Regions from separate parts of the Homo sapiens genome. Here all the other regions are linked to region 2. The links are contacts of gene promoters, found by promoter capture Hi-C in blood cells and fetal thymus (Javierre and others, 2016). All regions are on one chromosome and are shown on one strand. Each heading gives the region's core, a stretch centred on a gene start or on the middle of the fragment in contact. The rest is flanking DNA. Distances are from core to core; before and after follow the strand shown.

The links. Contacts are between HindIII fragments. The CHiCAGO score rates a contact against its expected background, and 5 or more counts as called.
Region 1: a fragment that was not itself captured here is called in contact with the fragment with the promoter of DDX60 in region 2 in 1 of 17 cell types (neutrophils); the score reaches 5.0 in neutrophils.
Region 3: a contact is called between a fragment that was not itself captured here and the fragment with the promoter of DDX60 in region 2, in 1 of 17 cell types (neutrophils). The highest score is 6.0, in neutrophils.

What each region holds. Positions count from the first base shown.
Region 1 is chr4:168,583,447-168,587,799 of GRCh38, reverse strand. All of the region lies in intron 2 of PALLD (palladin, cytoskeletal associated protein), which reads right to left. The region is part of intron 1 of LOC124900807 (a long non-coding RNA gene); the gene reads left to right. Among named protein-coding and RNA genes, the nearest start is that of PALLD-AS1, 63 kb to the left of the region's middle. The HindIII fragment of the contact is 4,669 bases long and covers 606-4,353 here.
Region 2 is chr4:168,316,003-168,320,291 of GRCh38, reverse strand. DDX60 (DExD/H-box helicase 60) reads left to right here and starts at 1,540. Exons shown (of 38, transcript NM_017631.6): 1 at 1,540-1,670. RefSeq lists an enhancer at 1,277-1,606. The HindIII fragment of the contact is 2,588 bases long and covers 1-2,051 here.
Region 3 is chr4:168,612,332-168,616,200 of GRCh38, reverse strand. All of the region lies in intron 2 of PALLD (palladin, cytoskeletal associated protein), which reads right to left. The region is part of intron 1 of LOC124900807 (a long non-coding RNA gene); the gene reads left to right. Among named protein-coding and RNA genes, the nearest start is that of PALLD-AS1, 34 kb to the left of the region's middle. The HindIII fragment of the contact is 4,616 bases long and covers 264-3,869 here.

The sequences.
Region 1 (4,353 bases), core at 1,691-4,190, 270 kb before region 2:
CTATTGGGGATGGCAGGAGAGTTCTCTTAACTCAGTTTTGTGGATTTCTGTATGGTGGAAAATGGGAGGAGGTGGTGAAATCCTTAGTCTTAGTAGCACTGGTTAGGGAATTGCTACAGCAGGGGAGAGGTAGAATAGGGAAAAAAGCAGCTGGCCAGGGATAACCTTAGCCATGCACAAGGCAAGCTGAGGTTTGAGAAAAAACGGAAAAGTTGGGAGATGCTGGCACAGCTGTCCTTCATAACCGCCTTCACATCCGCTCTCCCTAGCACTGAAGCCTCCCTGCGCTTTGGAGTCCCTGGCAGAGACTGGTTTGGGCAGTCTTTCCAGTGAAATCTGGTGAGCTGTCTGCTGCTTTAGCCAAGGAGTCCTGCTACTGAATGACATAAACAGTTCCCTTTCTTCAAGGGTGAAAGTATATTGGTGTGTTCTAGCAAACCAAGCAAAACGTGAAAAATATTTCAATTTTTAGGTGGCATTTGGTCAAGTGATTGCCTATGTGGTCTTCAAAGAATGTCTCCACTGGGGATTGACTATCATGATGCCAGAATTTTCCAAATCCCTAGACTCTTGAAGATCTTTCTAGCTGCTATCATTTGAAAGCTTAGCAGATTGTTGTTTATATCTACACACCCGCATTCTTCAACATCAGCACTGCAGGCATTTTGGGCTGGAGAATTCTTTGTCGTCGGGGGGTGTCCAGGGCACTGTGGGATGTTTAGCAGCTTCTCTGGCTTCTACTCTCTAGTACACCCCTCTCCCAGTGGTGACAACCGAAATGTCTCTAGGCATTGACAAATGTCTTCTGAGCAGAAGCGCAGCTCTGCAAAGAGACTGTCTAGGATACTAGACTTTTCCTTTTTACTCACTCTCTTATCGCATGGTACCCCTAGCTATGTCTCCTTGCCCTGAGGGAACGTTCGATTTTTTTTTAAGGAAATTCAGGAGAAAATATTTTTTAATTCCACAAAAGAATTAATGCAGAATTGAGAGACTGAACTGATGATGATTTGGTATATAAGGGTTTGAAAGACCTCTAATGTTTAAATTAGGCTTGTTCCATGGATGTCCAGAGTGCCCTGGAAAGCATGACCCATTTGAACCCAGGAAGCAATCAGCTCTGCCACCAGGAGCACTGGGCAGCCATATGATCAGAAACTGGGTTTACAGTTCAAACCCAGTACTGGGTTCTAATCCATACTTGCACAATGATTCAGCTTACGTTTTAGCTTGGCAGTTCTAGAAATCTCTGGCTATCTCAGTTTTACCAGTTCTAAAGTAAAGAGAGGGATTCGCTCCTCCTCTCCCTCCCACAATTCCCAAATTAGTGATCAACGACAGCAAAACGAATTGGGTCCAGCATGTAGACAGTGGTGAATTCTGGACTTTGCTGGGCAAGGGAATCTCAAGTTGAGGCTCAATTGTGAGGTGTAACAAGGTGTGTAAAAAAAAACGTTCTCTATATTCTTAAGAAGGGAGTTGCTACATAAATTTGGGGCATATCTAATTCCTAATGGTTTACCAGGAGTTTGGGAATACTGGAATCAAGGGGTGAAGAGTCTCAGCTTTTCTTTTTTGTGGGGCCGGAAGTAGTAGCTTGATAGGCACTGCTTAGAAAGCCTTTTTTTTTTTTTTTTTTTTTTTTTAGGTCTCTTGAGGACCTGGAGAAGCGATGTAGTATACTAAAGATATCTTAAAGTGCTCAAACACTCTGGCTAAATAAAAATTTCTCAAGACATTTCTTTCCAACTCGAACAAAATTACCAAAATATGAGGACATTGGTAACATTTAAACAGCAACCTTAATAGACCTATAATAGTAAACAATACGACTGTATTTGGTTTGAGGGAAAGAAGTTTATCTAGCTAATGCTATTTTCCTGACATTCTACCAATGCAAAGGACCCTGGATCCAATACTTTAATATGTCATTGTGTGGAAATCTCAGCTCTGGCCTCTTAAGAGTACTAAGAAGATTCCCCAAGCTAACTCTGACATTGTTTGGGAAACTTGGCTCCTAAGAGCAGGCGTGGGCTGCTTGGTTCCACCCTGGGCTGGGGAGCTTTTCAACTGGTATTGTGTCCACAGGCTCCCTCAGCTGGTGTCTCCGAAAACGACAGGCTGCTCCTCATACTGTCCTGAGCGCTCAGAATTAAACTGATGGGGCCAGGGGCACACTCAGTGCCTGCGCTGGGGACTGGATCCCAGGCCCCCCTCTGTTTTCTCTTCTATCTAAGAGTGCCTTCGTGCATAGACATGACAGCATTGATGAGCTGTGGGATGGCTGCAATCCCTACTTCATAAAAAGATGTGGGTCAGTAGAGAGAGGTGGGAGGAGAGGCATAAGGCTGGTTGCAAATCTCTTTTCTGTGACCTGCCAGTATAATTGAAGCTACATTGTTAGTTACACCTCATCTATGAAATGGGTTACACCTCATCTATGAAATGGGTTAATCATTTCCTCTCCTACACGGACACACACACACACACACACACACTCACACTCATATATTCTCATGGTCACACACACACACTACTCATAAGGATGTTGTGAGAATTAAACAAGATAATGGTTATAAAACCACTTGATAAACTGCAATATGTCATAAAATTTTGAAACTATTGTTTTTGTTGTACATCATGAGCAGTATGTCCTGTGTTCCTACATCTTTTAGAGACCATTCAATACATTTGGAATCTATTACCAAATAGAAATAGTTTCCAAAACAAACATATCTATCTTCTTGTCAGTTAGAATTAGTCAAATTTTTATCATAAATAACTATTATTATATAAACCAGTTATATGGGAACTGGTGTAAAATAGCCAAGAAAGGGGGGAACTCTACTAGACATTCCAAATAAATGTGTAGTTTCTTCATGTGTGTGTGCATGGGTACTTTGTTGAGGGAATATTTTGCTCACCATTGGCCTAGAATAAATGTTTGTTAAATGAATGAAAGAAAATATACATTATATAATGACTTTCCATCAAACAGTCCCCCTCAAGTTTATCCATATTCTCAGCCATGGCAGGATTTTCCATCACACATGGTCCACATTTGAATGTTCATATTCAGAAACACGGCTGGGTGAAACTAAAGTTTACTCATTTTTGGATGGCAGAAACAAACCACAGATTGAAATAGAAGACATTGTAAGCAATGTGTCTGACATACTTGGTGACTAAGATAGAAAACAATTCCTTAGATGCCTTAAAAGTGACATTTATTTTATATATCCAACTTTTCATGAAGGCAATCACACAAATTAAGATTGTTAACACATACTCTAATGAAGGATTAAGTAGAAATTTAAATGGAAAGATGACAAAATCCAAAATAACAATTTTTGGTTGAGATCCAAGAAAGATGACTTATGAACACATTTCTTTGTTTAATGCCAGACCCAGTAAAAGTACCATCTTGGTTATCTGGCATCTGTTCCATGCCTATTGGCATTCTTAACGCACACTGTAATGATACAGTGGTTCAGCAGAGGGATGCTTACACTTTGTTGAAATCTGAATATATTAATTTTAATTGCTTTAAATTAAAACTGAAGACGAGGTAAAAAAAAAAAAAACCTGATGGTCTTAGAGTACTATATAAGCTGGTGCTAGATTTTACCTGATGTCTATACATAATGATTTCCAATTATGCAAAGCCACATTGGAATGGGACAAAATAAAAGTGGGATAGGGATAGAATCTGATATTTATTTGGTTCCTTCTTTGTGTTAGACACTTTATGTGCCATTTCATTAGCTTCATATGCACCCACGCACAGAGTTTCATGCTCCTTATTTCAGAGATGAGAAATTTTGGGCTCAGAAAATTTAATTGCATGTACTAGAACTGGTAGAGAAAAAATGGAAACTATGCCTTTCTTGGTGGTGGGGAATACCACCACCTCAGTTTGGATTGGAAGGTTGGAAGAAAGAAAAGATATCGAAGGAAAGTAGACCTGAGAACTAGGCTTGGTAAACAGACAAGGTCCCATTGGCCACCCAGCAGAGCAGAAGTATAGAGTAAAAGCACATTGGTAGGAAAAGAAAAATATTATCACAGATATCCCAAGGGCTGAGATGTGTAATATTTAGTCCATTAGTCCATTAGCCTTAAATGGAAAATAAATATTCTTTTCAAGTGAAGTAAATCTTGAGTCTCCCTCTTTATCCAACTCCATCAAACTGATTGGTGCACTGGAAATATTTCCAGAGGAACCCAGACTAGGAAATAAGTCTGGTGCATGAAGATGACGGTCTATGTAATCTAGAACCTTTCTACTCCAAGTGTGATATGCAGACCAGCAGTATCAGTACTCCCTGGGAGCTCTTTGTGATTGTGGAATCT
Region 2 (4,289 bases), core at 291-2,790:
ACCTTGGGCCCACCTGGATAATCCCGGGTAAGGGGTAATCTCCTCTTCTAAAGATTCTTATTTAATCTATTTTGCAAAGTTACTTTTGCTATGAAAGTTACTGTATTCATAGGTTCCAGGAATTAGGATTTTGGCCTCTTTTGGAGGGAGGAGTGCAGGGTATTATTCAGCCTACCCCAGGCAGGTACATCAGAGATCACAGTGAAGGAGACAGGAATATTGGCTGATTTAAGACCAATCATGTGTTAAATTCTAGAGTCTTTTATTTTCTTTCTTAATCTCATCACTAACAAACACGTGAATTTCTAAACAAATGAATAAACAAGTAATTGTCTGATGGATGTGAGAAATGTCCTCCTTCCCCATATCCCCCTCTTTTAACAACTTGACTCTCTAATTTTTCACAAGACAAAGTATCATTCACTACTCTCTCTGTTCTGTGTTCCCTGTGGAGCAGTGCCTGGACCTTGGCTCTTTCCTTTCCTTGTAGACAAAGCAGCCTGTGGCTTCTTATCATGCTGATTACCCAAATTCACTGCTGTCTTTCCTCCACACCCTCTTCTATTTCCAATATATGAATGCATATTTATAGCATTAATGAAATCAAGCATACGAGGGCACTGAAAGGAAAGGAGATGAGTATCGAAACCCACACTGCAAGTATCAACAGGCAAAAATTAAGAGAACATTTCATCAATTTGAGGCACAAATAAATGTGACCATTCTGCATTTTCAATTTATTTTTTAATGTTGATTCTTGGCCCATGAAAGTACCAATTACAGTTTATACAGAACAGTAATCATCAGCTTCTCATAACAGAAACTCAAAGTTCATGTATTGTTACATACTTTCTTTTTTCTTTTTGCATACAAGTAGAAGCAGCAAGATCTCCAATTTCATTGTGGGGTTTCAGATTCCACAGTGTCTTTTACATTTTATCAATTTCTAAATTCTAACTCTTCTTGATTTTATCTTGTTTAGATGTTACAAATTTTTCTGCCTCAATTTACTCTATATTTATGCCCAAATTCCAAAGCCCATTTTTATTGCCTTTGTCTCTCTCTTTTAAGGTTTTTTTTAGTTTCATTTTATTTTTAATTGACGCATAATAATTGTATATATTTTTGGGGTACAATGTGACGTTTCAATACATGTATACATTGTGTGATGATCAAATCAGGATAATTAGCCCATCTATTACCTCAAAACTTTACTATTTCTTTGTGATGAGAATATTCAAAATTCTCTCTTCTAGCTATTTTGAAATATGCATTATTGTTAACTATACACACCCTACTGCAGAATAGAATACCAGAACTGGTTCTTCCTAGCTATTGTAACTTCATACCTTTTAACTAACGTCTCGCCATGCTCCCCTTCTTAAGATTCTGATTGAAGGGAAGGATGCTAAACTTTCCACGAAAGTGCCTCGCCTAATTCGTGCTGAAGGGAAACTGAAACCTAAGTGCTTCTGAGAGGAGAAAGGAAACCGAAACTCCCGCCGGATGCATAAAAGACTGGCTGCGGTGGCTCAGAGCGCCGAGTCCTAGGCCAGGTCTGGGGTAACCTGGAACTTCCACCTGGGCTCTGCGCTAGGTCTCTGTTTCACTCCCTCCCCGCGGGGCGCGCAGCTCGCGGGTCTTTGGACACCACCGGTCCTGAGTCCGCGGTGAGGAGCCGGGGATGTCCCTTGGGAAGAGCCTGGGGCGGAGCTGTCTAGCGGGAGTTCTAGGTCTTCTTCAACGGACCGGACAGGGAGGTGGCCCAGGAGTGCTGGGCTCGGGGCGCGGGAATCTGGGGAACCTCCTGGGATCGCAAGGCCGTGGCGCACGGGCCCCCTGCTGGCCCGGAAGGCCGGGCGTGGGGAGGGGCGGAGGAAAGGGACAACCGCGAAAGGCCTGAAGTCTGAGACAGAGAGGAGTGCTTAGTTAGGCATTTAAGGAGTCCCCGTCAAAGGTGGGAGCTGGGTAATGGAGGTTGAGGAGAAATTAAGGGACATCATATCTAAGCACAGCCAGTAAAACCTGTACATTGACAGCAGCAAGAAGCTTCCACCTTCAATCCCTGCTCCAGACTTGTAGAATCAGAATCTGCGTTTATTAATAAGATTCCCCCAGGTAATTTCTGTGCACCCTTAAATTTCAGTGGCTTAAGACAATAGAAATTTATTTCCTACTCCAGTAACTTAATTTATTCCTGGTCAAGGGGCAGGTATAGTGGCTTAAAACATTACAAGTTTATTATTTTACAATTGCTGTGGATCAGAAGCCCAGGCATGGGTAAAGTGAGTTCTCTGTTCAGCATCTCATCGAGCTGAAATCAAGGTGTCAGAGCTGTGGCCTCATGGGACACCATGGATGCTCATTCAGGTTGTTGGAAGAATTCAGTTTCTTGCAGCTAAAGGACTGAGGTTACCTGCTTTCTTGCTGGCTGTTGGCTGGGGGTTCCCATGTCTTTAGATTTCACCCTGAGATCTTAGCTACAGTGGCCTTCTCACAACAAGGTGGCTTATACCGTTAAAGAAGGTATAGGGTACCTTTAAAGAAGGTATAAGCCTCTTTGGGGGAATCTCCCGAGTCTACTATGATGAAGTCTTACATAATATAACCGAATCATTAAAGAGACTATGCCATTAAATTCACAGGTCCTGTCCACACTCAAGGGGAGAGGGTTATACCGGGTACTGGAAGCCATTTTAACCCACCAGCTCTTCTCCAGGCAGGGTTTCAGGAGCTTGATGCCTTTCATCAAGTAGCTCCACCATTCTGTTCCAATACAGAATCCATGATTTCCTTTCCCTTCCCTTGCCCCCATTTTTTTCCTCTTTACCTCCCCTTTGCGCCTTTCCTCTTCCCTCCTTTTTTCTCTTTTCCATTTCTCTTCCTCCCTTCTTCTTTTCTTCTTCCTTTTTAAGATTGTTTGAATCAGAATATGGTTCTGACACTACTGTGATTGGAGGATAAGCCTTATAAGGTTCTTGCAATTTCTTTCATCCCCTTTTAATTTATTCGTTTGTAAGATTTGTGGTCTTATGATTGTTTGTTTTTGTATGTGTGTGTCCTGTTGGGTGTGTGTTTATGTGTGTGTGTGTGTATGTGTCCTAATCCCTGTGGTGTCATTTAACATATTTTGCTGGCCTCTAAATTTCTTGTAAATTAATCATTACTACTAGCGTTTTGATCAGATTCAGGTTTTCTTTTTTTTCTTCTTCTTCTTTTTTTTTTTTTTTTTTTGAGACGGAGTCTTGCTCTTTTGCCCAGGCTGGAATGCAGTGGCTTGATCTCAGTTCACTGCAACCTCTGCCTCCCAGGTTCAAGCGATTCTTCTACCTCAGCCTCCCAAGTAGCTGGGATTACAGGTGACTGTCACCATGCCCAGCTAATGTTTGCATTTTTAGTAGAGATGGGGTTTCACCATGTTGGCCAGTCTGGTCTCGAACTCCCGACCTCAGGTGATCTGCCCGCCTTGGCCTCCCAAGTTTTGGGTTTCTTTTTTTTTTGGCTGGGAGAACTACAATACTTCACTGATGGTGTGGACACTTGCCTCTATTTTTGTTGTGCTATCGTTTAAAAATACCAAGATCTGTTAATTCATTAGGAGTTGTAAAATGGTGATATTCTAATTCTATCATTCCTTCTGTGTTTATTAGCTGCATTATTTCTAGAAATGAATCACTCTTGTATCTACTCTTTGGTAATGCGATGGTGCAGTACTTAGAAGAAAAGCAGGATAATTTCTTGATTCCATAAACCATTATTTTTTTTCATATATTGTCTTCAGATGCTATTGCTGGACATCCTGCTGTGAAAGATGAAGAATTTAGCATTCATATTTATTTTTCTTTCATTCATCCCTTTGTGAACTGCCAAGTTGGTTAATTATATTATTATTTTCATACTGTCAAGGTTTATCATATTTTACAGCAGTTTGTGACTTTGATTCTTGTGATTTGTTTGTATGTTGAGTCAACAGTAAAAAAGAAGTAAACAGCAGTGACAAAATTATGAGTATGTACACATTACTCAGTGTAGAAGCAATCTAGGAATTGCTAGGCTAAGACATGTAGTTCTATGTTGTTAAAATTACTGTTTGAAATAGACTTTTGTAAATTCGAAGTACCATGGGTTCTCTTGTTTTTCTTTATAGCTTCCTTTAACTTTTCTAAATCACACAAAGTTTCATGGTTTTTTGATTGTCTTCATTCTTGATGGGTTTTCCCCAATTTTCTGTATTATCTCTTTAAATAAAATTATCATTTAAGATATATAGTTGGCATTTTGGAAGACAG
Region 3 (3,869 bases), core at 1,322-3,821, 290 kb before region 2:
AGTTAGAGTTAAAGAGAAGATAGCGTGGGGAGTACTCAAAATGAAGGCAGGATAGCTCTGATGACAGATTTTTTTTTGGTCACAAAATTAAAGTTGACTCCTTGAATACAACCCAGTTTAAACTCAAGGCCAAAAGGAGTATGTAAAACATAGGCAAAAAATACTGTCACAATCATCAAAACCCAAGGATGGCTTAAAAAAGGAAAAAGAAAAAAATGGGAACACTACCATTCCTTCCTTAACAATCATGTCATAAATAAGCTTTCCCAGCTAGCAACAAACTCCTTTCATCTACAACTTGAAGGCAAAGACCTCATAAATTGACTGGGGTATTCTTCCCCTGTGTGACTACAAGGCAGGGATTATTTAAAACTGAAGGCTCCTACTGATAGGTTTTTCAGAAGGAGTCACTGGTGGGATTCGGAATGGTTACCCTTCATTGCTTTGGTGAGTGATACCTCAAAGATAATGCAGGAGAAATTACAAGCACCCCCCTTGGCTGGGGAGGCAGCAACATCGCCTTTCAGATGTCACATCAGACCCCTCTGAGATGGGTGCTGAGGATCCCTTGGTGGAACTGGCAAGGTGTGGGGACACATGCTTTTGATTATCTAAAGAGAATGAGTATGAAAACAAAACCTAATCCAAGAAGGAATGTAAATCCTGTCTCTTTGTGCCCCGTTGAAATGTAATGTCAGTACTTAAGAATTCCTTTTGCCACTAAATGGACTCGGGCCAGATACTGACACCCAGAGCCCAAGTTCTGTTATTTTCCTTGTGAAATTGTAAGGAGAAATGTCTTCATGATTACCAAAGTATGTGTGGATAGATGGTAATGAAGATAAATTGTTTTTCCCTTGCCTGATACCCGAGCCCTTTGTGGTATATGCCACAATGTAGCTGTTACAAAAATCATATTTATTTATATGCTGTTTGGGACAGAAAGTGTGTGAAACTGAAGCATGAATGTGATTTCTATTCTTAGTACCTTTTGTATGAATTTTTTAATGTAATGCTTTATAAAGTTTTTTTTTTTTTTAACTTACCATCTTTCCCAGGAACGAGGGCAAAAGTACTCAAAAAATGCATTGCAAGAAATATGAGCTAAACCCTGTATACAGCAGTTTATTCCCTTAGCCTATTTCTTTAATCATGTAACCCTAATCAATGAACCTCCTAATATCCATGCACTGGGGCTTATTGGCTCTAGCTATCCCTTGTATTCGAGGAATCTTCTGCCATTGTGTTTTAAATACCCACAGCCTATTGGCAATCTTGCTGCTGTTGCTTTTTATTCATGGTCTTAGTCTTGGGATATTCAAATAACTTACTGAAATGTTACCATCCCACACTGATGTGGTTTACCGTGCAGGACTGGGGAGGAACGCATGCTTTTGGAAAGAAGAGAAGTCTTTGTTATTAGGATTGATTTCATTTCATTGTACTTTTGGCTGCCTTTTCAGCATTAGGTTCTTTTCCTGTGATTTTTTTTTAAATAGTTAATAGAGAAAAATATACCCAAGTTAGTGGATGGTCTAGGGACCTAACTACATCTGGAAGTTTACATGAGCACTGAGAGTCCACTATGCAAAAGCAAAGGCAAAATGATACCATCTAATAAACACTTGTAAAAGTATGCATGATACTTACAAAGTATTTTTTTTTAATCAGAGTCCCATTTGTTTATTGCTGCTTTATGGTTTTTCAAATTGGAGAAAGCTATTTCAAACATGTATGATACACATAAGAGCAATTTCCAGATACAAAGAAATCTTTGGCAAAAAAACATTGACTAGGCCAGCCAGTGTGGCTGCTCTCTCCCTCTCTTGAGCTGGGAGCTGTTGTTTTGGGCACAAGGGTCTCCCTAGCGCAGCATGGTCACTGACATAGGCCTTCCTTTAATTTATTACTATTATTATTTTAAAAATATGAGTGACAGAGTCCACAGTGTCTTTTTAAAAAATAATACAATCCAGGACTTTTTAGAAAAAATGATTAAGACCAGTAGAGTGCTCAATATGATAGAGAAAAAAGACAGGAGGCAGGAATCCAGCCAAGAGGAAAATACACTTTTCATTTTCTTCCTGAGACTGGAGATTCTCTGCTAAAGTGAAGGCGCCATCCACAGAGTTACATCTGATGGACATTACTTATGACATGACTTAAGCAGAGAAAGAACAGTCGAAACCGAATTCTCCAGCCTTTAAATGAATTCCCAGCTACAAACCAGAAGAATAACACTATTAGGTCTGGAGGGCAGCAGGATGTGGAGCTCTACGACTCAGATTTCTTTTCACGATGTTGGCATGACTTTGTAGGATCTATGTATTATTTATGTGGCACCACTACCATGTTTTTAAATACTCTTTGGATATACACCCGTGAATTAGTTTAATCGAATTCTCCCATTTTTATCCATAACGAGTTCTAGTCTTTGTAGCCAGCATGACTTGGGGCACACTCTGTCTCCTGGAAGTCTTGGGGTAATCCCAGAGGTTCATTATTTCTAATTACTTCATATCTAAATGTGTAGTCCTGAGCTCATTGCACAAACCAGCCAAAGGAGGTAGGATTCTTCTCCCCACTACTTTCCTCTCAATATAAATATGTATGTTTCACAACCAAGCCCTTATAGCCAAAACCAAAATCTGCATCCATTTCTGGCATTGTTATCTGGAATACAGGATGCAACACAATTAATTGCAGAGAGTGCTGACACATATCCAAAAGATGAGGAGAAGATGATGTGGACAGGTAAAGATTGAGGCTGAGGATGGTCTGTAGGTGAGGGGAATTCTGAAAAGAATTACGGTGCATGCTCTTTGATGCGGTATGGCTGTCAGAAATACATACACCTCAGTCAAGATGTTTATCTTTGTTGTATTTTGGTGTCTCTATTCATCTTGAGCATGAAACTAGGGTGAACAATTCATTTGGGTTTGTCCTGGACTTTCTTGGTTTCAGCACTGAATGTCCTGCATCCCAGTAAACCCCTCAGTCCGAGGCAAATCAGGATGGTTGGTCACTCTACAAGGCACCTAGACACAGGCATTTGAGATATCTAAATGTGTGTGATGCATTGCAAAGGGTGACATTAGAAACTCAGTTTTTCTGTCATGCCACCTCCCAGAATATTTTCATTTTTCTCCACTAGTTACTGAAGGAAGTTGATGGGGGAAAAGGTATTCAGGAAGCAGAAACTTCAGCCCCATGCTGGCAAGATGGATTCTTGATGATGAAAGCCTGGTAGTTCCGAATCCAGTGAGGGCATAGTCCAGAAAGCTCTTTGAATTCCAGGGTTTCAGAGACATGGGTTCTCTAATATAAGCATGCATTTTCCTCCACACTCCCTTCTAAGGAGCATTCTGCACTGCCCTTTTTGCCTCCAGGACCCTGGGAGAAGATTTTCAGGAAGTTTAGCTCTAAGCACAGCATGAGTCCCTCGACTCTATCCCTAAGGAGTTTCTAGTAAAACAGGAAAAAAATTTATAGATATTTTTGGTGACACATCTCTGTTTCTCTTGGATGAGTCACTGTGTTGAGACAGACTTTGAGGCAGTTGCAAGGCAGTCTGGTTTAATTCACCTTACGTTTGGGGGCAAATGTCCCAGATTTTCGACCTAAAGAACAATGCACAGCTGTACCTTAGATAAAATTATTACCCCAGAATGCAGCCAAGGAAAACTTTCACCATTGTTCAGCTGCTGGACAGATTGGAGCAAGGGAGTTGGGGCTCAACTTGACACAAGCATTCATGGTTCTTGTAGTGATCATCCACGAATCAGAAAACTGTGGAGACGTCTCTGGGATCAGAATTATCACTATGGGAGAAATCCTGGGTTGGGGGTGGAACCACATGGGGATGTGAT